Linked DNA regions of Homo sapiens: regions 2, 3, 4, 5, 6 and 7 are each linked to region 1. Evidence: promoter capture Hi-C in 16 types of primary human blood cells and fetal thymus (Javierre and others, 2016). All regions are on one chromosome and are shown on one strand. Each heading gives the region's core, a stretch centred on a gene start or on the middle of the fragment in contact. The rest is flanking DNA. Distances are from core to core; before and after follow the strand shown.

Region 1 (2,799 bases), core at 175-2,674:
GCCACGCCCACCGGACGTCACCCGTTACACAACGCCCCCCGCCCCCAGCTTATGCAATTCTGCCCTCCCGCGGTTCCCAATTGTCCCGGTGACTTTTGTGGGTGAGGAAGGGAGACGCCGCCTGCCCGGCCTAGTTGCCCTCGCGGGGGATTCTCTCCCCGCCCCGGCAGTCGTTTCCCCGCGGCGGGCCCGGCCCGAGAGCCAATTCCCGGAAAGCGCGCGGCAGGAAGCGAGCGGCCGCTCGGGATAGCCCAGCTACCACCCATCCCGCGCCGGGGCGGCCTCGGTCCAGGTCACCCACTCCGCGCCGGGAGCGCGCGCCCGACAGCCAGGCCGCGGCCGAGGGAACCCCGCGCCGAGCGCCCCTCCCCGCGCCGCGTCACAGTCGGCTCCCAGGGCGATCCCCATTATGACCGAAGCACCCCGGGGCGCCGCCCCCTCCCACACCCCCCAGCACCCCGAGACCCGACACGCCAGCGGCCCAGCGGCCCCGGGGAAGCAGAGGAGACTCTCGGGGCGCAGACAAGCTCCGGGTCCCCGGCCCTCGGGGCCAGGAGGGTGCGGTCGGCCCGGCCCCGCCGCATCCCCGCGCGGTCACCTGCTCGCAGCGCCTCGCAGGCGGCGGCCAGGGCCTCCCGGTAGCGCCCCTGGTGCAGTAGCTCCCCGAGCCTGCCGGCCGCCCGGGCCCGCTCGCGCTGGCCCGGAAACCACTTCTCGGCCAGGTGGTTGAGGACGACGCTGGTTCTGAAGTCTGAAGCGGCGATGGCGGCGGCCAGAGGCGGCGGCCGCGGGGCGGTCCCTTCAGCATCAGTGGCACTGGCGGTGGCGGGCGGCAGCCGGTCCCGGCAGAGGCGGCAGCGGGCGCGGAGTTCCCTCCGCAGGCAGCGGCGGCAGTAGCTGTGGCCACAGGGCACGGTCACCGGCTCGCTCAGGAAGCCCCGGCAGCCCAGGCATCTGAGGAGCCCGCCGGCGCCGCCGTCAGCGCCTGCAACCGGGGCCGCGCTCCAGCCCAGCCCGTGGCGGAGCCGGTAGTTGAACACCAGGCAGTCCACCAGGGCGCCCAGGCACTCGGGCCTGGCCGGGGCCCCGCGGCGCAGCGCCGCCGCGAACGCCTCCAGCGCGCCCTTCAGGTGGCCGCCCAGCGCCAGCAGCTCCCCGCGGCGGAGCAGCAGCTCCCAGCGCTCCGACTCCGCGGCCGCGCGCTCCAGCCGATGGCCGCTGCCGCCGCCCACTTCCCAGAACCGGCCTCGGCCCTGCGGCGCTGGGGCCATCTCCCGACTCCCTCCTGGGGAGGTCCTCGCCACCGCCGGAGAGGACATGGCCCGCGGAGGGCTGCGCCGCCGCCGCCCGCCGCCACGGTCCCGGAGCCTCCCGGGCGCGCGGCTCCGCACGCGGCCCGCGAGCAGGGGGGCGTGGCGCGCGGACACGGCGGGGCTGCGCGCGCCCGGGAAGCCCCGAGGGCGGGGCCTGGCGAGGGCGGGGCCGGGCTCGGCGACGGCGCCCGGGACTCCCCCACGCCGCCCGCGGCCGCGCTCCCGAGGAGCCAAGCGCTGGGCCCCGCCCCTTCCGAGCCCCCTCCGGGTGGGGGACGCAGGTCGGATGATTCCTCCGTCGGAGATCTAATTGGCTTCTCCGGAAAGGAGGGCTCGGCTCGTGACGGAACAAAGCCGGAAGGACCCCGGAGCTTCAGTCCCCGCTTGCCTGTCTGCCAACGCCGCCACCTGCGGTGGCCCTCGCCCCTGCCGGGGGTTGGGGGACGCTCCCCTGCCGCGCGGGACTCCGGGTCACCACCCCTCCCCCGACGCCCCCGCCCAGGCCGGACCTGCCCCAACTCCTGGCGGGCGGGGGTCTCCCCGCGTGGCCTCGCGCTTGTGCGGGTCTGCATTTTCATAGCTCTACGCCCATGTTCCAGGTGGGCGCGCCCAAGCAGGGGGCCTGGGAGCGCACCTTCGGCAGATGACTGGGACTCTTCGGTTCTAGAGGACTCAACTTTAAATATGAACAAAAAACCCACGTTCCTGGGGCGACTCCCTCCAGAGGGCAAGGAGTTTTTCCTGGTGCCAGGTGACTGCTTGCCCGTCTTGCTTAAAACTCATCGTGGGCCCACCTCGAGGGAGAAAGCCCACAGCTTCCTCAGGTGTCTCCACACCTCAAGCACTGCCTTACAGCTGGTTAAGGTCTATATTTGGCAGTTTTAAAAGAAAACACCAAGAAACATGTTTCACATGGCGGTCACCGTATTACTACAACCCAAGCTGGCTCTGCAGTTTTGCTGACAGAAGAAAATGATCGGGTTGATATATAATGGGTGCTATTTCCCTTAAACTTCACAGCAGCAAGTTTAAAGCTCTCAGCTGAAAATACAGATTTGATGATAGGGTATTAGATCGCTAATGTTGGAAGTCACTTAGGACTTTTAGTCCTTTTTCAAATGATTGGAAACACAGGGAAAGTTATTTGTCAAAAATCACACAGCTAATACAGATTTTAAGATCACGTCTATTCCACTACTACTACGTTAGACTAATATGTAATATTTAATAAAATATGTAATATTTCATAGAAATATATGAGATTTTCAAAGTAAAAGAAGTTGCTAATTGGAAAGTTCACCTGAGCATGCTATGTATGAAATTGGTAAACGTTTAATATTTCTCTTTATAAGGAACAGGCAATTAAGGCTAAAAAATGTTTTGAGTTCATGTGTTTTCACTACACAATCAACAAGTCGTGTAACGTCAGAAAAGACAGAGTTATATTACCCTAAAGGGAATGAATAAAAAAGAGGTGCCTGAGAAA
Region 2 (2,799 bases), core at 97-2,596, 4.5 Mb after region 1:
GTTTCTGCTTTAGATGCCTGTGCTTTTGAGGTCTTACACAAAATTGTTTGCCTAGAACAATGTACTGAAGCATTTCCTCAATGTTTTCTTCTAGTAGTTCCATAGTTTCAGGTCTTAGATTTAAGTCATTAATCCATTCTTATTTGATTTTTGTGTATGGTAAGAGATAGGGTCTAGTTTCATTCTTCAGCATATAGTTACCCAATTTTCCCAGCACCGTTTATTGAAAACATCATCCTTTCTCCGTTGTATGTTCTTGGTGCTTTTGTTAAGATGAGTTGGCTGTAAATTATATTTGGGTTCCTTGTTTTGCTCCATTGGTCTGTGTGTTTGTTTTTAGGCCAGTAGCATGTGATTTGGTTACTATAACTTTGCAGTAAATTTTGAAGCTGGATAGATAGTGTGATGCCTCCAACCTTGTTCTTTTTGCTCAGAGTTGCTTCAGCTATTCAGGGTCTTGTGAGTCCATATAAATATTAGGATTATGAACAGTGAAAACACATGGATACAGGGAGGGGAACATCACACACCGGGGCCTGTCAGGGGGCGTTAGGGGAGGGATAGCATTAGGAGAAATACCTAATGTAGGTGACGGGTTGATGGGTGCAGCAAACCACCATGGCACGTGTATACCTATGTAACAAAACTGCACATTCTGCACATGTACTCCAGAACCTAAAGTATAATTTGTAAAAAAATTGTGATTGTTTCTATTTCTGTGAAGAATGTCATTGGTATTTTGCTAGGGATTGCTCCAAATCTGTAATTTGCTTTGGGTAGTATTGTCATTTTAATAGTATTTATTCCTCCAGCCACAAGCATGGAATATGTTTCCATTTTTTTTGTACATGTCCTCTTCAATTTCTTTCATCAGTGTTCTATAGTTTTCCTTGTTTAGATGTTTCACTTCTTAGGTAAAATTGTTTGCTAGGTATTTTATATTCTTTGTAACTATTGTAACTAGGATTACTTTTTTCTTTAGATTGTTTATTGTTAGCATATGTAAATGCCACTAATTTTTGTATGTTAATTTTGTATCCTGCAACTTTACTGAATTGGTTTATCATTTCTAACAGGTTTTTTGTTTGTCTGTTTTTTTGGTGGGGTCTTTAGGTTTTTCCAGTCGTAACATTGTGTCATCCGCGAACAAGGCTAATTTAACTTCTCTTTTCCATTTTAGATGCTGTTTATTTCTATCTCTTGCCTAATTGCTCTGGCCAAGACTTCCACTATTATATTGGATAAAAGTTTGAAAGTGGGCATGCTTGTCTTATTCTAGATCTTAGAGGAAAGGCCTTCAGTTTTTCCACATTCACTATAATGTCAACTGTGGTTTGTTATATATGGCCTTTATTATTTTGATGTATATTCCTTCTATACCCAGTTCGATGAGGGTTGTAATCACAAAGGATTTTATTGAGTGCTTTTTCAGCATCTGTTGAAACAATCATTTGTTTTTTGTTCTTGGTTCTCTTAATGGATATATCACATTTATTGATTTGCATATATATTGCACTGTCCTTGCATTCCTGGGGTAATACCACCTGATAATGGTGAATGATCTTTTTTAATGTTTTGTCGAATTTGGTTTGCTAGTATTTTGTTCAGGAGTTTTGTATGTATGTTAATCTGTAATATTGGCCTGTAGTTTTCTTTTTTCTTGTTTCTATGGGTGATGCTGATCTTGTAGAATGAGTTTGGAAGTAGTCCTTCTTCAATTTTTTTGAAGCATGAGTAGAATTGTTATTAGTTCTTTAAGTGTTTGGTAGAATTCACCAGCGAAGCTATCAGGTCCTCAGCTTTTCTTTGATGTGAGACTTTTTATTATGGCTTTAATCTCATTATTATTGGCTTATTGAAGTTTTCTATTTTATCATGGTTTAATCTTAGTAGGTTGTATATGTCCGGCAATTTGTTCCTTTCTTTTAGGCTTTCCAGTTTTTTAGCATATAATTCATAGTGGTGCCTAATGATTCTTTATAGTTCTGTGGTCTCAGTTGTCACATCTTCTTTTTCATTGTGACTTCATTTATTTGGGTCTTCTCTCCTAGTTCATCTAGCTAAAGGCTTGATGATTTTATCTTTTCAAATAACCAACTTTTCATTTTCTTGATCTTTTGTATTTTTGGTCTCAACTTCATTGATTTCTGCTCTGATATTTATATTTTTTCTCCTTTTAGGTTTGGTTCTTCTCTAGTTCATCAAAGTGCATAATTGGGTTGTTTATTTGAAGTCTTTTTACTTTTTTGATACAGTCATTTATTGCTATAAACTTTCTTCTTTGTATCACTTTTGCTTTATCCCATAGATTTTGGTGTGTTCTATTTCCATTTTCATCTGTTTGAAGACTTTTTAAAATTTACTTTTTAATTTCTTTGTCACCCCATTGGCTGTTCAGTAGCATGTTTAATTTCCACGTGGTTGTGTAGTTTCTGAAGTTCCTCTTGTTATTGTTTTCTAGTTTTATTGCATTGTGGTCAGAAAACATACTTGATGTAATTTCTGATTTCTTTGAGTTTGTTCAGACTTGTTTTCTGGCCTAAGATATGTTCTGTTCTGGAGAATGTTCCATGTGCTGATGAAAAGAACATATTCTGCAGCAATTGAGTGCAGTGTTCTGTAAATGTCAATTAGGCCTATTAGGTCCAAAGTGAAGTTTAACTTTGGTGTTTCTTTATTGATTTTCTGTCTGGATGATCTTTGCATTACTGATAGTAGAGTGAAAGTCCCCTATAGTTAACGTATTGCAATCTGTCTTTCTCTTTAGGTTCATTAATGTTTGCTGTATGTACTTTGGAG
Region 3 (2,799 bases), core at 93-2,592, 4.5 Mb before region 1:
TCCTGTCCCTAAAAAAATAAAATTAAAAATAAGGTAACATTTGAACAAAAAGCAGTAACTGTGAGAATCAAAGGACAGCAAGGCCAGCTGATGTCCCCGCCTGCTGCAGGCCTGTTTCCCCACCTCTGGGCGCTCTCCTGGATGATCTACCCTGTTCACAGCAGTGGCTTTAGAACCCTGGGCACCATGCCAGGGCTCCAGGCAGCCTCACTGTTCAGCTGCAGTGTGGGACCCCCACAGCCTCACCTTGGCCTGTGGCCTCAGGTCCATGGCCCTGGAGCCCACTTAGGAAGGGCTGTGCCACCTGTGTGGAAACTACTGGTTTTTGGGTCACAAACCATATTCCACCATCAGGGTCACCATCATCTTCTCTCAGCTGCCAGTCTTCTCTTTGGACGTACCTCAAAGGAAAGGTGAGATCAAAGAAAACAAAATGGAATAAAATAAAATAAATGGAAGTGCTGAGCCATCAGTGCCATTTCTGAGCAAGCACCTTTTTTTTTTAGTTCTAACCCATTCTGTTGAGAAAATGTGACTCTGCAAAGACTGGAGAGTGAGATCTCTGGAAAGTGCTTCCCGTGCAAAACTCCCATTTTTCATGTCTCTGAATCAATATTTGTAGATTGACCCCATGTGCCGGGGCGAGACACTGCCTCCCGTTGTTCACCTCTGATCGGATGCTCCCTTCCTTATGGAGGCTGCTGGTGCAGGTAAGGGCTTCCTCTCACTTGCTCCCAAGGAGCCCAGAAAGAGTGATCCCATCATGGAGCAGCAGAAAGTTTCCATTTGTTTGAAGAGGAGAATATGCTGGACTCGCTGGATGAAGCCTTGAGCCGAGAGTCCTGCCCTGTGCCCTGGAGCGGAGCTGAGTGACTCACCCCCTGTTCTCTGCTGGGAGTGGAGGGTCCATGCGGCTTTCCTCCCTTTCTTTCACCTGGTGTGCAGTTTTACTCACGGCTTCTCTCCTATCCTCTGACTCATTGACCTTGATAGGGAGGGAGGGTTACCTGGAGGCATTCCAGGAGGCTGACTTCAGCAGTCACCTCCGCCCTGGGCCGCAGGGGCACTGGGGACACCAGTGCGTGACTGCTCCCGGCTTGCTGCTTTCCTTCTCACATCCACTTTCTAAGGGTAGGCAGTTTTCCTAGGAACTCAGCAAGTCATACCTTCTCAGAGACTTCTGCAGAGCAGCAAGACAAAGCTTACTCAGAGGCGCCCACAGACCAGGAAGGGTGAGTCACCGGAGCAAGGCTATGGGGATCCTGATCCACTGTTTGCGTCCTCTGTAGAGCAACAGGACATTTTCTTATTCCCAGGCCCCTGTGTGCTGAAAACGGGCCGCCAAAGGAGCCTCTGCCTTCAGCCAGGCTTGGAAGAACACCAGGAAAGCAAAAGGTGGTGGTGGGGACCTTCTCCATGTTTATGGGTCTATGCTGAAAATCCCAGTACAGATATGAGGAAAGAGCCCTCTTATGGGCAATGGAAAAGCTTAGATTGGTTCAAATAACACAGTGAAGCCTACTGATTTAAGATGATGCTTTGAATAGAACACTTAAAATTTAGGTCTTTCCTTAGCCTCTGAGTTGTATAAACCACATGATGTGGGGACTTTGATGTCCTCCAGTTTCTTTCTGATTTGAAATGGAGCTAATGCTATCTCCTGCCACCTCCCAGAAGGACACAGAGGAAATATAAACATTGACGTGGTGGTGGCATCTTAGTAAAAAAAAAATCACGAGGGTTCAGTTTGCTAAAGCAAGACTTGGAATGACCTGATAAATGGCCAGGAAAGACCAACTGTGGGAAATAAATTCCTCTCCAGACTTTAGCTGTTGGGGTTAGGATTTCCAGTTCATAGCTTTACTTAGGAAGGTGAGCAGGCTCAGAAAATGCACAGACCCCTTTGAGGGCTGAGCACCCAGACAGGGCGGCTGGCTCAGCTGGATAATTCCTCTGGATTAGGGGAACTCTGGGGGAGGGATTTTAATAAGCGGAAATGTCTCCCCACTCATGGAATAATGGGTTGAGACAAAGAGCAGCTGGAAATCAAGAGAAGGCCAAAGAGGGCGAGAGAGAAAGATAATGTGAGAAGAGGAAAGAAGAAAGGACCGCTAGCTACAGCAGAGGGTTCATTCTCAGGGGAAAACTCATGCTAAAATTCAAGAAAACCTCTCCTAAAGTAAGCTGTTTGGCGATCTTGAGAAAGGCTTAGCCTCTGGAAGCAAAGTGTTAGCTAAATACAAAGACTTGATATAGTCTGGATGTTTGTCCAAGCCTCAAGTTGAAATTTGATCTCCAATGTTGGACGTGGGGTCTAACGGGAGGTGCTGAGTCCTGGGGCAGATCCCTCATGAACAGATTCATAACCTCCCTGTAGGGGGTTGTGAGTGAGTTCTCTATTAGTTCCTGCAAGAACTGGTTGTTTAAAAGAGCCTGGCGCTTCCTCTCTCTCTTTTCTTCCCTCTCCATGTGATTTCTGCACCCGCTGGCTCCCCTCCAACTTCCACCAAGAGTGGAAGCAACCTGAGACCCTCACCGATGCAGATGCCCAAACTTGGACTTTTTCAGACACCAGCATTGTAAGCCAAATAAACATGTTTCTCTATCTAAATTACCCAGTCTCAGGCCTCCCTTCAGAGCAATACTAAATAGACTGAGATAACCCGATATATATTTCAGAAGGATGGTGGTAAGAAGAACATGACAGAGACTCTTCAGTAATCTTGATTGCTGATAGTGGTTATTGAAGATCTTACTCATTCATCTATTTGGCCGTAGGGTCTCTTGAGGCCAGAAGTT
Region 4 (2,799 bases), core at 210-2,709, 4.4 Mb before region 1:
TCCAACCATCTGAAATGGACCCCTCCTCTCAGTCAAGGGCATTCCAAAGTGAACATAAAAAAATGAGTTCAGGCCATGATGGGAAGGGGGCGCTGGACATGCCTCATGCTACCCTCCTCCCTGTTGGGATTACTGATAGGGCAGTCTCTTCAAGTCTGATAAAAATATTTACAATGTGTTCTCACTCAAGCCTGCTACCTGGAGGCTTCGTCTGCATGATAAAGTCTTGGTCTCCATAACCCCTTCTCATAATCCAGACATTCCTTTCTATTGATAATAACTCTCTCAACCAAGTGCCAATCAGAAAATCTTTGAATCCACCGACGACTTGGAAGCTCCCCCGGCCCCCTCAACTTCAATGTACATCATACATGTATTGATTGATAACTGTGTCTCCCTAAAATGTACAAAACCAAGTTGTGGCCTGACCACTTTGGGAACATGGTCTCAGGATCTCCTGAGGGCTGTGTCATGGGCCATAGGTGACTTATATTTGGCTCAGAATAAATCTAATATTTTACAGAGTTGGACTCTTTTCATTAACAAACAAAAAGCACACAAATGTGAAAAACAAGACACTAAATAGACTGCAAAAAATGACCCTGGCTTCCAGGATGAGGGCTGAAACAAGATGGGAGACTGTCGCCTCATTCCCCTTCAGCTGGAAACATGCACATTGGGTGATATGGTTTGGCTGTGTCCCCAAACGAATCTCATCTTGTAGTTCTCATAATCCCCACGTGTGGTGGGAGGAACCTGGTGATGTTCTCATGATAGTGAGTGAGTTCTCATGAGATCTGATGGCTTTATAAGGGGTTTTCTTTTCCCTCCCTTTTTTTTTTTTTTTGAGATAGAGTCTTGCTCTGTTGCCCAGGCTGGAGTGCAGTGGCGCATCTTGGCTCACTGCAATCTCCACCTCCTGGCTTCAAGTGATTCTCCTGCCTCAGCCTCCCAAGTGGCTGGGATTACAGGTGCCTACCACCACACCTGACTAATTTTTGTATTGTTCATTTTTTAGTAGAGATGAAGTTTCACCATGTTGGCCAGGCTGGTCTTGAACTCCTGACCTCGTGATCTACCTGCCTTGGCCTCCCAAAGTGCTGGAATTACAGGCATGAGCCACTGCACCTGGCTGCTTTTGCCCCTTTTGCTTGGCTTCTCCTTGCTGCCACCATGTGAAGAAGGACGTGTTTGCTTCCCCTTTCACCATGATTGTAAGTTTCCTGAGGCTTCCCCAGCCATGCTGAACTGTGAGTCAATTAAATCTCTTTCCCTTGTAAATTACCCAGTCTCAGGTATGTCTTTATTAGCATCGTGAGAACTAAACATCAGGTGACTCAAATTTTTCCTTCCCTTACACGTATCCAGAAATCACTGGAAAGCGCTTCGAGTATTGATTTTGGAATTACACATAAATTTGAGCGGGTAGATGATTTTGCAAATACAGAATCCATAAATAATGAAGATGGACGGTATTTATCTCAAAGCATGTTTTCTCCTCTGAATGACAGGGGCAGGGATAGTCCTTCCTCGTAGGGCCATTGTGAGGATCAGATGAAATGATGCAGGCATGGCTCTCAGCGCCAGGCCCAGCCCAGGGCAAGCACAATGGGGAAGGTTGCTATGGTGACTGCTCTTGCCATCTCGGCTGTAGCCCTCTGGTGATGCGGAGGCATCCAGAGCTGGCCTGCAGGTATTGTGCAAACCCGAAGAGCACAGCTGCCCAGGGGCCTGGGAAGAGTTTCCAAGGCTCCTTTTTCTCAGGGGTATGAAAAGCCTGGGCCCAGCAAACACTTGAGGCCTGGAGCTCCAGTCAGGCTGCTGACATTTTGCACAGAGATGTAAATGAAGGAGCAGAGTAAATGGCAACTGGGCTGGATGCATTTCAAAATCAGTGCACTGGGCCTTTGGCAAGACCCGCAGCTTCCTCAAAGGCCAGCAACGGAGAAGGCTGCGTTGGGCGCATGCTAACTAGCCCTGTGAGTGAGCTGTAGGCCCGCGCCGGAGATCATTCCACAGCACTGGGTGGGGGAAGGGGCGGTGGGGGAGGGAGTGGCTTTTTCTCCATCTCCATCTCCCTACTCCCTGCCCCCAACCAACCTCATTTCATTTTCAGGGGGCCCTGCACTCGGATTTTTAGCTCTAGAACTTTACATAGACTCTTGGTTCAGCTCAAGTTTCTAACGTTTTGCTGAGCCAGGACTCATTTAAACTTTGGAGTCAGGGCCTCATTCACGGGCGAAAGTCTGGGCTAAATCATGTCTGTTAAATAAAAAAGGCCCAGCAGCTTAAAACGGGGCCCTAATTACCAAACTAGAATTCTGTCTAGATGGCTGAGAAATGAAACTGCTTCGAAGACGCACACACAACTAATGATTTTTTTTTTCCTGTCACCTATTCATGCGGTGGAGCTACAAGAACCAGCTTTATCTCCTCACTGCTGCAGGGCGCTGAGCCCAAAGTAGTAGGTTCCAGCATCAGCAAGGAGCAGGTGTGAGCCTGCTATTGTTAACTAGGACTCCGCGACCGCAAACGAGGCTCCGTCTGCCTTCAGTGCCGGCTCCCTGTTTAACATGTGCAGATAAAATGCGCTCAGCCTCAGACAGGCAGCTCGCTGGCTGGGAAGGGAGACCCACTCCCCCTCCTGCGGATCCCCAGATGACTGTATTTCGTCTAGACTGGAGAGCTAATGAAGTGGAACAGCTGCCCGTGCGAAATGATGCTCCAGGGCCCCCACGGCCCGCCCCCCCAATGACCAGGCCAGGCACATTTGCAAATTAATATTGTTCCTGGTAACGT
Region 5 (2,799 bases), core at 222-2,721, 4.4 Mb before region 1:
CTTCCCCTGCTGGTGGAAACCCACATTTGTCTGAACTGATATTTCCTGATGACATTCCTGTTCCTTCTACGGCAGATCCATATCTCAATATCTGCTATGGGAAATATACAGTACAGTACTGATTTGGCATCAGAACTGCCTTATTTAATGCGCATGACCTTACGGTCAAGAATTTATTGGCTGTTCTTTGTGTTCAACATTGCCAGGCCCTGTTTTAATTTTCATAGTCACGGGAATCCCCTGTGTATCAACAGGAGGGTTTAAAGTTTGTTCGCTACCACAAAAAGTGCTCCTTGAAAACACGTCCCTCTCCCCACTCCCAACCCTTAGAATCGTACTTTTAAACTGTGTTAAATCTGTCAAAAAAAAAAATGTGACAGTGAAGGCAACATTATGACTAATCTTCATCTTTGTATCTCAGTATCGCTGTGGGAACCTTGGAAATATCAATTCCTTAGGAAATGCTATGGCAGTAGCTGATCCTTGCCTAATCTCCTGGCAAAATAAAATCAGACAGTTTCATACAATATTCTTATATCCACATCAGATCTATCACTAATAGTTTTCTCCAAGGGAAGCCAGGATATGAAGTCATGCATAACAACTCCTCAGTCTAGGAGAGAAGCCAGAGCCAGCTCTGTGGCTATCCCCTACTTTGCCCCTTCCAAAGTGGTTTCTAGAGTTTCTTGGTCTTCAGGCCCAGAAAATCACTAAGGGAGAAACTACAGCACCATGGCTACAGAGCTGGCACAGCTTCCCACTCCACAAACTTCATGAAATGTATGTAAATAGACAAAACCAAAAAATACATAAACATGTGTATGTATGAGCATATATATATATTCATATACATATGCACACACACACACATACTTACTTAAAGTAACAGCCAAGATTAAAAGAAAGAACAATTCTCAGGTGCCAGATACAAAGAGGGAACTCCACACACAGGCAGTACAAGGGATCCTTCAATACTAAGCGTATATTTACTACAGATTTCAGTAGACGCACTTTATCAGGCTAAGGATGTTTATTTCTATTTCAAGTTTTCTAAGGTTTTGTATTTCAAAATCATTTTTGGCTATTAGGGTTTATTAAATGCCTTTTCTACATCTATGGGAAAAAAATCATATCATGTTTCTCCTTTACTCTGTGAATGTGATGAGTTATGTTAATAGCTTTTCTTAATTAAGCCATCCTTGCACATGTTGTATGAACTTATTTTACTACACATTGCTGGATTCAGTTTTACTCATATTTAGTTTAAGATTTTTACATTTACATTCAAATAGAGGCTAGCCCATAATTTTTCTTTCTTGTCCTGTCCTTGTCCAATTTGGATATAAAGGTTAAAATAGAATTATAAAATGACGGCCGGATACGGTGGCTCCCTCCTGTAATCCCAGCACTTTGGGAGGTCAAGGCGGGCAGATCACTTGAGGTAGGGAGTTCGAGACCGGCCTGGCCAACAGGCCAACCCCATCTCTACTAATCATACAAAAATTAGCCAGGCATAGTGGCCTGCGCCTGTAATCCCAGCTACTTGGGAGACTGAGGCAGTAGAATCGCTTGAACCAAGGAGGCGGAGGTTGCAGTGAGCCGAGATGGTGCCATTGCACTCCAGCCTGGGTGACAGAGTGAAACTGTGTCTCAAAAAAAAGAAAAGGAATTATAAAATGAATTGAGTAACTTTCACTTTTTCAATTATCTCATGTAATTTTTTTTTTTTTTTTGAGATGGAGTCTTGCTCTGTTGCCCAGGCTGGAGTGCAGTGGCACCATCTTGGCTCATGCAAGCTACGCCTCCCGGGTTCACGCCATTCTCCTGCCTCAGCCTCCCGAGTAGCTGGGACTACAGGAGGCGCCCACCACCACGCCCCGCTAATTTTTTTGTATTTTTAGTAGAGACGGGGTTTCACCGTGTTAGCCAGGATGGTCTCGACCCCCTGACCTCGTGATCTGCCCGCCTCGGCCTCCCAAAGTACTGGGATTACAGGAGTGAGCCACCGCGCCCGGCCTTATCTCAGGTAATTTTTATAAGAGAAACATTATGTGTTCTCTGAAAGATTGCGAAAACTACCCTGTAAAACCATCAAGGACCAGTTGCTGTATAAATGAGATCAGTAAAGATCTGGTTCTGATAAATCTAGGACCAACATTTCCAGGACACAGACCCAAGAAACAGACTGGAGGATTAACAAGTCAATTCATGGTACTTACACCAGCTATTTATGATGTGAAGAAAAAAAGAAAGTAGAGCCATATCTCATACCGTGTAGAAACACGAATTTTCAACAGAAAAGAAACACCCATTAAATTTTAAATTCATCAGAAAAAATAACGAGAAAACTTTATGAACTTGGGGTAGGAAATAATTTTTAAAATAAGGGCTAAAAAATAGCAATATAAAGAAAAAGATAAATCTGACTACTTTAAAATTTAAAACTTCTGCCTCATAACATAAAAGTCACCATTAAAAAGTGAAAAAAAACAAACCTTGGAGTGGCCAACTCACATCTTTGCAACCCGCATTACTAATAAAGTACTGGTAGGCAGAATAAAAAAGAGTGCCTATAAATCTAAGAAACAGACAAATGACCCCATTTTTAAAATGGAAATGAACAGGCAACTCACAAATGAAACAAGAAAGGCCACTCAACACATGAAAAGATTATTAAAATTATGAATGATCAGATTGTAAATAAAACAAGATTTCATTTCATACCCATCAGATCAGACTGACAACGTCAGATTTTGTTAAAGATATAGGGAAATAGGAACTCTCTCACACTGTTTGTGA
Region 6 (2,799 bases), core at 155-2,654, 4.4 Mb after region 1:
CCGCTGTGGAGAGGGGAGGCCGAGGCCGGCGAGGCGCGCCGGGGGCTGAAGGGCTGAGCTGGGCCCGGCCCCGAGCTGCGCCAGACCCGCGCGGGGGTGCTGGCCTTGGCGGCGGAGCTGGATCCCTTGCTGGTTGGCGTCAATGCACTTGTTAAAAATTTGTGACAGCGCTCAGGGGCGTTTTTGCTGCCTTTATGATTTGAGGATTGCCAGTTGGACACTTTTCTAGTTTAAAAGGATGTGGAGGAGGTGAGCTACTAGAAAGTATTTTTGAGGACATGTGCAACACACTAAACCATAATTTAGGTGTTTGAACAGTAGGGAGAGAAAAAAAGAGGTGATCGTCTGAGGTTTTTACATCCAGAGAGCGAAGTGGCTCCAGTCCGAGTTCGAGGTTCCTGAATTGGTGGGTAGGATACTTTTAATGCTGAAGATTAAAATTTTTTAAAAAGTTGATTATTATGCACAAGTAGGGAGTACAATGATGTCGCTTAATGTAAGCTGGTTTCTACCTTCAGGGGTTTTATGAAAACTGATCTGGGTTATCAGAAAAAGATGTTAAAACAGAAAATGACCTTTCTGCCAGTGACTTGTGAATGCTTTCTGTGTTTGGTGCTCCACCTAACAAAGTGTCTGTTTTTGCCCTACCAAGTGCTAGCTTTGGGTGGGACGAGGGAAAAGATGAAATAGTGGCCTATTATATTGAGCCTTCACAAGCTCAGCATTTTCAAAGCCTCAAGATTCAGACATAAAATCTTGTCTGAAGCCATCTTACCTCAAAATGTTGCGCCTTGTGAGAAAGTGTCATAATAATACATCAAAATAATCACTGATGTAAGTTGTAAGAGAACCGAGACTTTTATTTCATATAGTTTTAAAATTTGCTGTTATTACTTGAAGGGATTTAGAAACAAGCTTAATAGTCCAAAAAAAAAACCTTGAGTCTGTTGTTGGGAAAAGATGAGGCTGTACAGGCATTATCATGAGGATGCATTTAGGTATGCAGTCGTCAAGTCATCTAAAATATATAGGAAAGGACGTGTAGTAAATTTTGTATTAACTGTTAATCTTAAAATAGCTTGCCTTATTGAGATAGACTGTATATGTTACGTAACTGTTGGGAACCTTTGTTGTGTTTCATTCCTTCGTCCTCTTAAAAACAGTGACCAGTATCGATTAATATAACCTGCAAAGAAGGGACATCCTAGAAGGCCTTCATTATCAAAATAGCCTATTCTCCTGTATTATCACATTAAGCTAAGACGCTTATCTTGGTACAGTGTCTCCTGTCCATTAAGAGGAAGCATTTGAAGGCAGAGAGAGCTCTTCTGCCCGTTAGAAGGATGTCTGCTCCTAGCTGAGGTGCTATATGGCAGATCTTATTATTGTATTGGGTAGACAGGTGATGGGGAAGGAACTAAATGGAAAATTGGTATTATATCTGAATCGTATGTTTATATGTACTTTCTGTAAGTTTAAGACAAATCTAGAGTATCCATAAAATCCGCATCAGTATTTTAGTAAGTGACGATTTGACTAAGAGGAAGAATGCCTCTTTTTAAACTGCCTAAGTGGCGTGGCCTGTTATTGATACCTTATCTATCACTTCTTGTCCCTGCCTGCCTGGCGCAATGCCTGTCTGCCTGGCGTAATGCCTGTCTGCCTGGCCTGGCGCAATGCCTGCCACATTGAAAACAACAGTAAGTGGTCTTGAATAAACAAATAAATGATTCAGAGGCACTATCTCCTAGGTTTTCAGAAAGTAGCTTTTATATTTTTATTGCTGTAGAAACAAAAAGTAATTGTTATGAAAGATCTAGATTCTAGAGTCTAAGAAGGAAGAACAAGTTGAAGCTGAATTTGATTCTAGAGACCATGGCAGTTTATGAGTGGCAAGCTTTGCATAGCCTTGGTCGAGTGGGAAGTTGAAATTTCCTTATAGGCACTGGGAAAGATGGCGACTAGTGTGACTGACACACAAAACCAGACTCCCAGACTCCTTTCCTTTTCACAGACAAAGCAAATGGAAATACCAGCCCCCACCCTACCCCCAGTATTAATCACATCTCAGACTGCCCTGCCCTTTGAAGATTCTTTTTCTCTTGGAAGTTGCCATTTACAAGCAGATTTTCCAAATTTCTTCCATAAAACATTGGCCAAGGTTGGGACCAGAGTGTGGGGGTCGAGGGCTGGGAACTGGATCAGGTAGCAAATGGAATAGAAGAAACAAGGTGATTTACCCTGGTCCTCCTTCCACATCTGCTCTCAGCTAGGGATGACCCTGAATATAAATTATTCTGTGCCCTTTGCTGAATGAACTGCAATTTAGGAGTAGTGCTTATCCTGGTATCCTTGGAAACTGGAGATAATGATTCTCATTACAGTTAGTTTCTATATTTAACAACGTGGATGTATGTGGCTCTCTAGGCACTTTTTCAGTTAGCATAATTTTTGCTTAGTGTTTGTATTTTATAAAAATAACCTCTCTTTTTGGAATATGTGTATATGTAAAATATATGGGATGTACATATATTGTGTGAGAGTCAAGTATTTTTGGTTAAGTCAGCTTCCTATTCTGCCAAAGAAAAGATCACAAAAGACAGTTATACTTCTAATCATTTGGACCACGTTTATCTCGTTTGTTGATTAACGAGGCTCTTCTATTTGTATTCCTCCCCCTCCATCCTTTCCTTCTCTTACCACTCCTTTTCCCTCTCCCCTGTCCCTCCTGTCCCTCTCTCCACTCCTGGCTTCTTTTGTGTTTTAACTCTCTTTGCTCTCTTTAGATATTAGGTTGGT
Region 7 (2,799 bases), core at 99-2,598, 4.4 Mb before region 1:
TTGCTTATGCCTTATTCTGAAGTGACAGAATTGCAGAAAACATTCACCTAAAATTTTTTTCTGTATGTTACAGTTAAATTAATGCAACGCCAGTAAAAGGAAAGAAATATGTGTGGAAAGTGTCTGAACTTCAGCACACTCCACTGGCCAGGGCTGACCAGGCAGAAAGGAGAAAGTGACAACTTTACCACCCACTAGCCCCCTGCCTCCCTACTCACGCAGAGGGTAAATTACGATATTCACCCAACTTTTCCTTTTCTTTTTTCTTCCTCCAGTGCTGGAGGAAAGAAAATCTCAGAGGGAGGAATGTGGTTTTGCACCCACTACAGTCGAAACCAACCAGACCTCAGGAGAGAAAAATAACTGCGGAATTCCCTAGGGCTTTCTGTCAAATTTTCTTCTCAGAAAGGGAAGGGGAGAGGAGTTGTTAAGAATAGTTCAGGCCAGTGATCAGGAAAGCCTTCTGAGCCTGACTCCGCACTGAATGCATCGCCAAAACTCCTCGCCCCTAGACCATTGGGCTTTGCTATCGGCTCTGCAAAACCATGTGCAGGGAGAGCTTACCTGAGAGAAACGCACACACCGTGAGCTGGCGCTCTCCGCTGCGAATGCCCGGCCGCCTCCATGCCCAGCAGAGGATTCTATGTTCTAAGTGTGTGTGTCCCCGGATACCAGCAAAGGTTAATAACGTGCTCACAGCATGCGTTTCAGAGGGCTCAGCCAGGGCTCGGGGAAAAGGGCATCATCTCGTTGCCTCTGGAGCCCCGCTGCTGCATACCCTGCACCCCCAAACCATCCCCCCGGGTCCTGGTCCCAGCAGCCAGGCGGCCTTCCGTCTCTCCCCCTTGACAATACTCTAGCGGTGGAAAGCAGTCCTCAAAGCGCTTCAGCCTCCGGCCGCAGACAGAGCAGCAAGACCAGAGAAACCATCCTAACAGTCGGTCCTCCCTCCTGGAACTCGTAGGAAAGTTTCCCCGTTTTAAAGAGCGCGATTCTCGAATGAATCAAAAACACCCTCCAGCTCCTCGGTCCTCCCGGCCGGGCGCCTCCCTGCACCTCGGGCACCACCCGGGGCTCACGCGGCCCCGGCACTGCCCACTTCCCGAGCGGTCGCCTGTCACCCCGGGGGTAGCCCGCTCGGCGATCGCAGCGCCCCTCCAAAGCTCCCCTCTGCGACCACGCTCGCCAGACAAAAAGAGGCCGAATTTGGAGAGCGCGTCGCGGGCTCACCTCTGGGCTGCGCTCCCCCGGCCCCTCCGTCGGTCTCCGAGCCGCCAGCCGCCCGGCCGGAGCATTGTTCGCAGAAGGTCTGCGCGCGGTGCGTGCCCGGCCGCGGGCGGGTGGCTTCTGCCTGGGCCCGGCGGCCGGGTGGCAGCTGTGAGCGCGGCTCCGCCCCCTCCGCCTCCGGTGACGCCGCCCGCCCCAGCTCACGCCGCACCTCCGCAGTCCCTGCCGCCGCCCGGCCCCGCCTGGCCCGCGCGCCCCGCCGCCCGGCTTGCGCCTGCCGCTCCCACCCGGCGGTCTCCTACCCCCAGGGCCCCGACTCCTCCAAAGTCTCCAGGCCCCGGGACTCCCTCTCTTGCCCACCCTCCCGCCCCGGACCGGCAGGCTCCGCCCCCAGCCCCAGACTTGGCGCGGGCTGACCCCCGAGCCCAGCACCCGTTTGCACCCCCTCCTCGGTGGGGACCCTGCACAGCTCTGGAGGGGCGAGCTCTGGCGTTGCAATCCTCCTTTTGCCATCATGCGTGTATAGGTGCCCGGCATCACTTCATCCAGCCGGCCCTGCGGGACCCTGGGAAGAGAGGGAGAAGGAAGGGGAAACGAGGAAGTGTGGGGTCGGGAGTGGAATACAGGTCAGGGTCCGAGGCGGGCTCTGAAAGCCACGTGAGCACAGCGAGCCTCAGCTCTCCCTACCTCTGGGAAGAGGGTGGCGCCGGAGGGAGCAGGGCTGGAAGTCCCGGTGGCGGATTCCAGGTTCCGCTCAGTCCCTGGACTGCAGGATTCTGGCAAATTGCTTAACCTCTTTGAACTTTAGTTTTCTGGATGTAGAATGCAAGCGTTGCACTGCAGGGACCTGGCCTTCTACCATGCTGGGACATCCAAGTCTTCCGCAGGCCAGTAATACACCTGTGTTTACACCGTTTCCAGTGAGTCATTCACTGAGATAGAACGAGTTCGAGATAGTCCTCGGGCTAAAAAAATCTTTTCACTGGGAGTATAATAGCTTAAGACCCAGTCAGTCCTGTAGCTTGACCTGGGTGTTTACTCGGGGAGCCAGGGCTATGGTCACCTCCCAGGGCCATGCCGGGTGGGAAGAATTCAGTGAAATGGAATAGGAAGAGGACCCCCCTCCCCCACAAAACAATACCTGCGGCTTCTCTCGCCCTCTATCCCCTCCCCAGGAAGGCAGTTTATTTTGACTCCAGTGAAGGTCCTCTGCCAGTCAGCCTGCGAGCCCCCACCCACTGAGAGGAGGAAGATGGGCCCCCACCCCCACCCCCAGATCCCTGGCTCTCCTCTTTGCTGCTGTGGGTGTGGACAGAGAGGGAAGATGTGTATTTGAGGTTTGGCTTCTGTGTGAGGAAAGGGAAAAAAGGATCCAGGGAATTCTTCCTCATGTTCCAGTGACACCCATGCCTCCTAAGAGGACAGAATCTGGGGGAAGCTGTAGAGGGATGGGAGTGCAATGGACATTCCTTAAGGACCTACCCAGCGCTAAGCAATCCTATGAGGAGAGCATCATTATCCCCATTCTACAGATAAGAAAACTGAGGCTCGGGGGCCTCACAATTTGCTGGG

What was found. Contacts are between HindIII fragments. The CHiCAGO score rates a contact against its expected background, and 5 or more counts as called.
Region 2: a contact is called between a fragment that was not itself captured here and the fragment with the promoter of LONRF1 in region 1, in 1 of 17 cell types (neutrophils). The highest score is 7.6, in neutrophils.
Region 3: a contact is called between a fragment that was not itself captured here and the fragment with the promoter of LONRF1 in region 1, in 1 of 17 cell types (M1 macrophages). The highest score is 7.0, in M1 macrophages.
Region 4: a fragment that was not itself captured here is called in contact with the fragment with the promoter of LONRF1 in region 1 in 1 of 17 cell types (naive CD8 T cells); the score reaches 6.8 in naive CD8 T cells.
Region 5: a contact is called between a fragment that was not itself captured here and the fragment with the promoter of LONRF1 in region 1, in 1 of 17 cell types (naive CD8 T cells). The highest score is 13.4, in naive CD8 T cells.
Region 6: a fragment that was not itself captured here is called in contact with the fragment with the promoter of LONRF1 in region 1 in 4 of 17 cell types (total CD8 T cells, non-activated CD4 T cells, naive CD8 T cells and 1 more); the score reaches 10.3 in total CD8 T cells.
Region 7: the fragment with the promoter of PRAG1 here is called in contact with the fragment with the promoter of LONRF1 in region 1 in 1 of 17 cell types (naive CD8 T cells); the score reaches 9.3 in naive CD8 T cells.

The regions. Positions count from the first base shown.
Region 1 is chr8:12,754,102-12,756,900 of GRCh38, forward strand. It overlaps LONRF1 (LON peptidase N-terminal domain and ring finger 1), which reads right to left and starts at 1,425. Exons shown (of 12, transcript NM_152271.5): 1 at 599-1,425. The coding sequence starts at 1,319. RefSeq lists silencers at 1-63, 204-743, 640-830, 834-1,173, 1,254-1,923 and 1 more and an enhancer at 899-1,718. The HindIII fragment of the contact is 11,195 bases long and covers 1-2,799 here.
Region 2 is chr8:17,256,949-17,259,747 of GRCh38, forward strand. The region is part of intron 1 of VPS37A (VPS37A subunit of ESCRT-I); the gene reads left to right. Among named protein-coding and RNA genes, the nearest start is that of VPS37A, 11 kb to the left of the region's middle. The HindIII fragment of the contact is 5,442 bases long and covers 1-2,799 here.
Region 3 is chr8:8,295,268-8,298,066 of GRCh38, forward strand. No RefSeq gene overlaps it. Among named protein-coding and RNA genes, the nearest start is that of FAM85B, 69 kb to the left of the region's middle. RefSeq lists enhancers at 1-631, 300-1,499, 632-1,543. The HindIII fragment of the contact is 287 bases long and covers 1,200-1,486 here.
Region 4 is chr8:8,322,490-8,325,288 of GRCh38, forward strand. All of the region lies in intron 5 of PRAG1 (PEAK1 related, kinase-activating pseudokinase 1), which reads right to left. Among named protein-coding and RNA genes, the nearest start is that of PRAG1, 63 kb to the right of the region's middle. The HindIII fragment of the contact is 6,195 bases long and covers 1-2,799 here.
Region 5 is chr8:8,340,479-8,343,277 of GRCh38, forward strand. The region is part of intron 3 of PRAG1 (PEAK1 related, kinase-activating pseudokinase 1); the gene reads right to left. Among named protein-coding and RNA genes, the nearest start is that of PRAG1, 45 kb to the right of the region's middle. The HindIII fragment of the contact is 3,665 bases long and covers 1-2,799 here.
Region 6 is chr8:17,157,168-17,159,966 of GRCh38, forward strand. All of the region lies in intron 1 of ZDHHC2 (zDHHC palmitoyltransferase 2), which reads left to right. Among named protein-coding and RNA genes, the nearest start is that of ZDHHC2, 2.1 kb to the left of the region's middle. RefSeq lists a silencer at 1-133. The HindIII fragment of the contact is 982 bases long and covers 914-1,895 here.
Region 7 is chr8:8,385,091-8,387,889 of GRCh38, forward strand. PRAG1 (PEAK1 related, kinase-activating pseudokinase 1) reads right to left here and starts at 1,349. Exons shown (of 6, transcript NM_001080826.3): 1 at 1,231-1,349. RefSeq lists a silencer at 1,052-1,731. The HindIII fragment of the contact is 9,968 bases long and covers 1-2,799 here.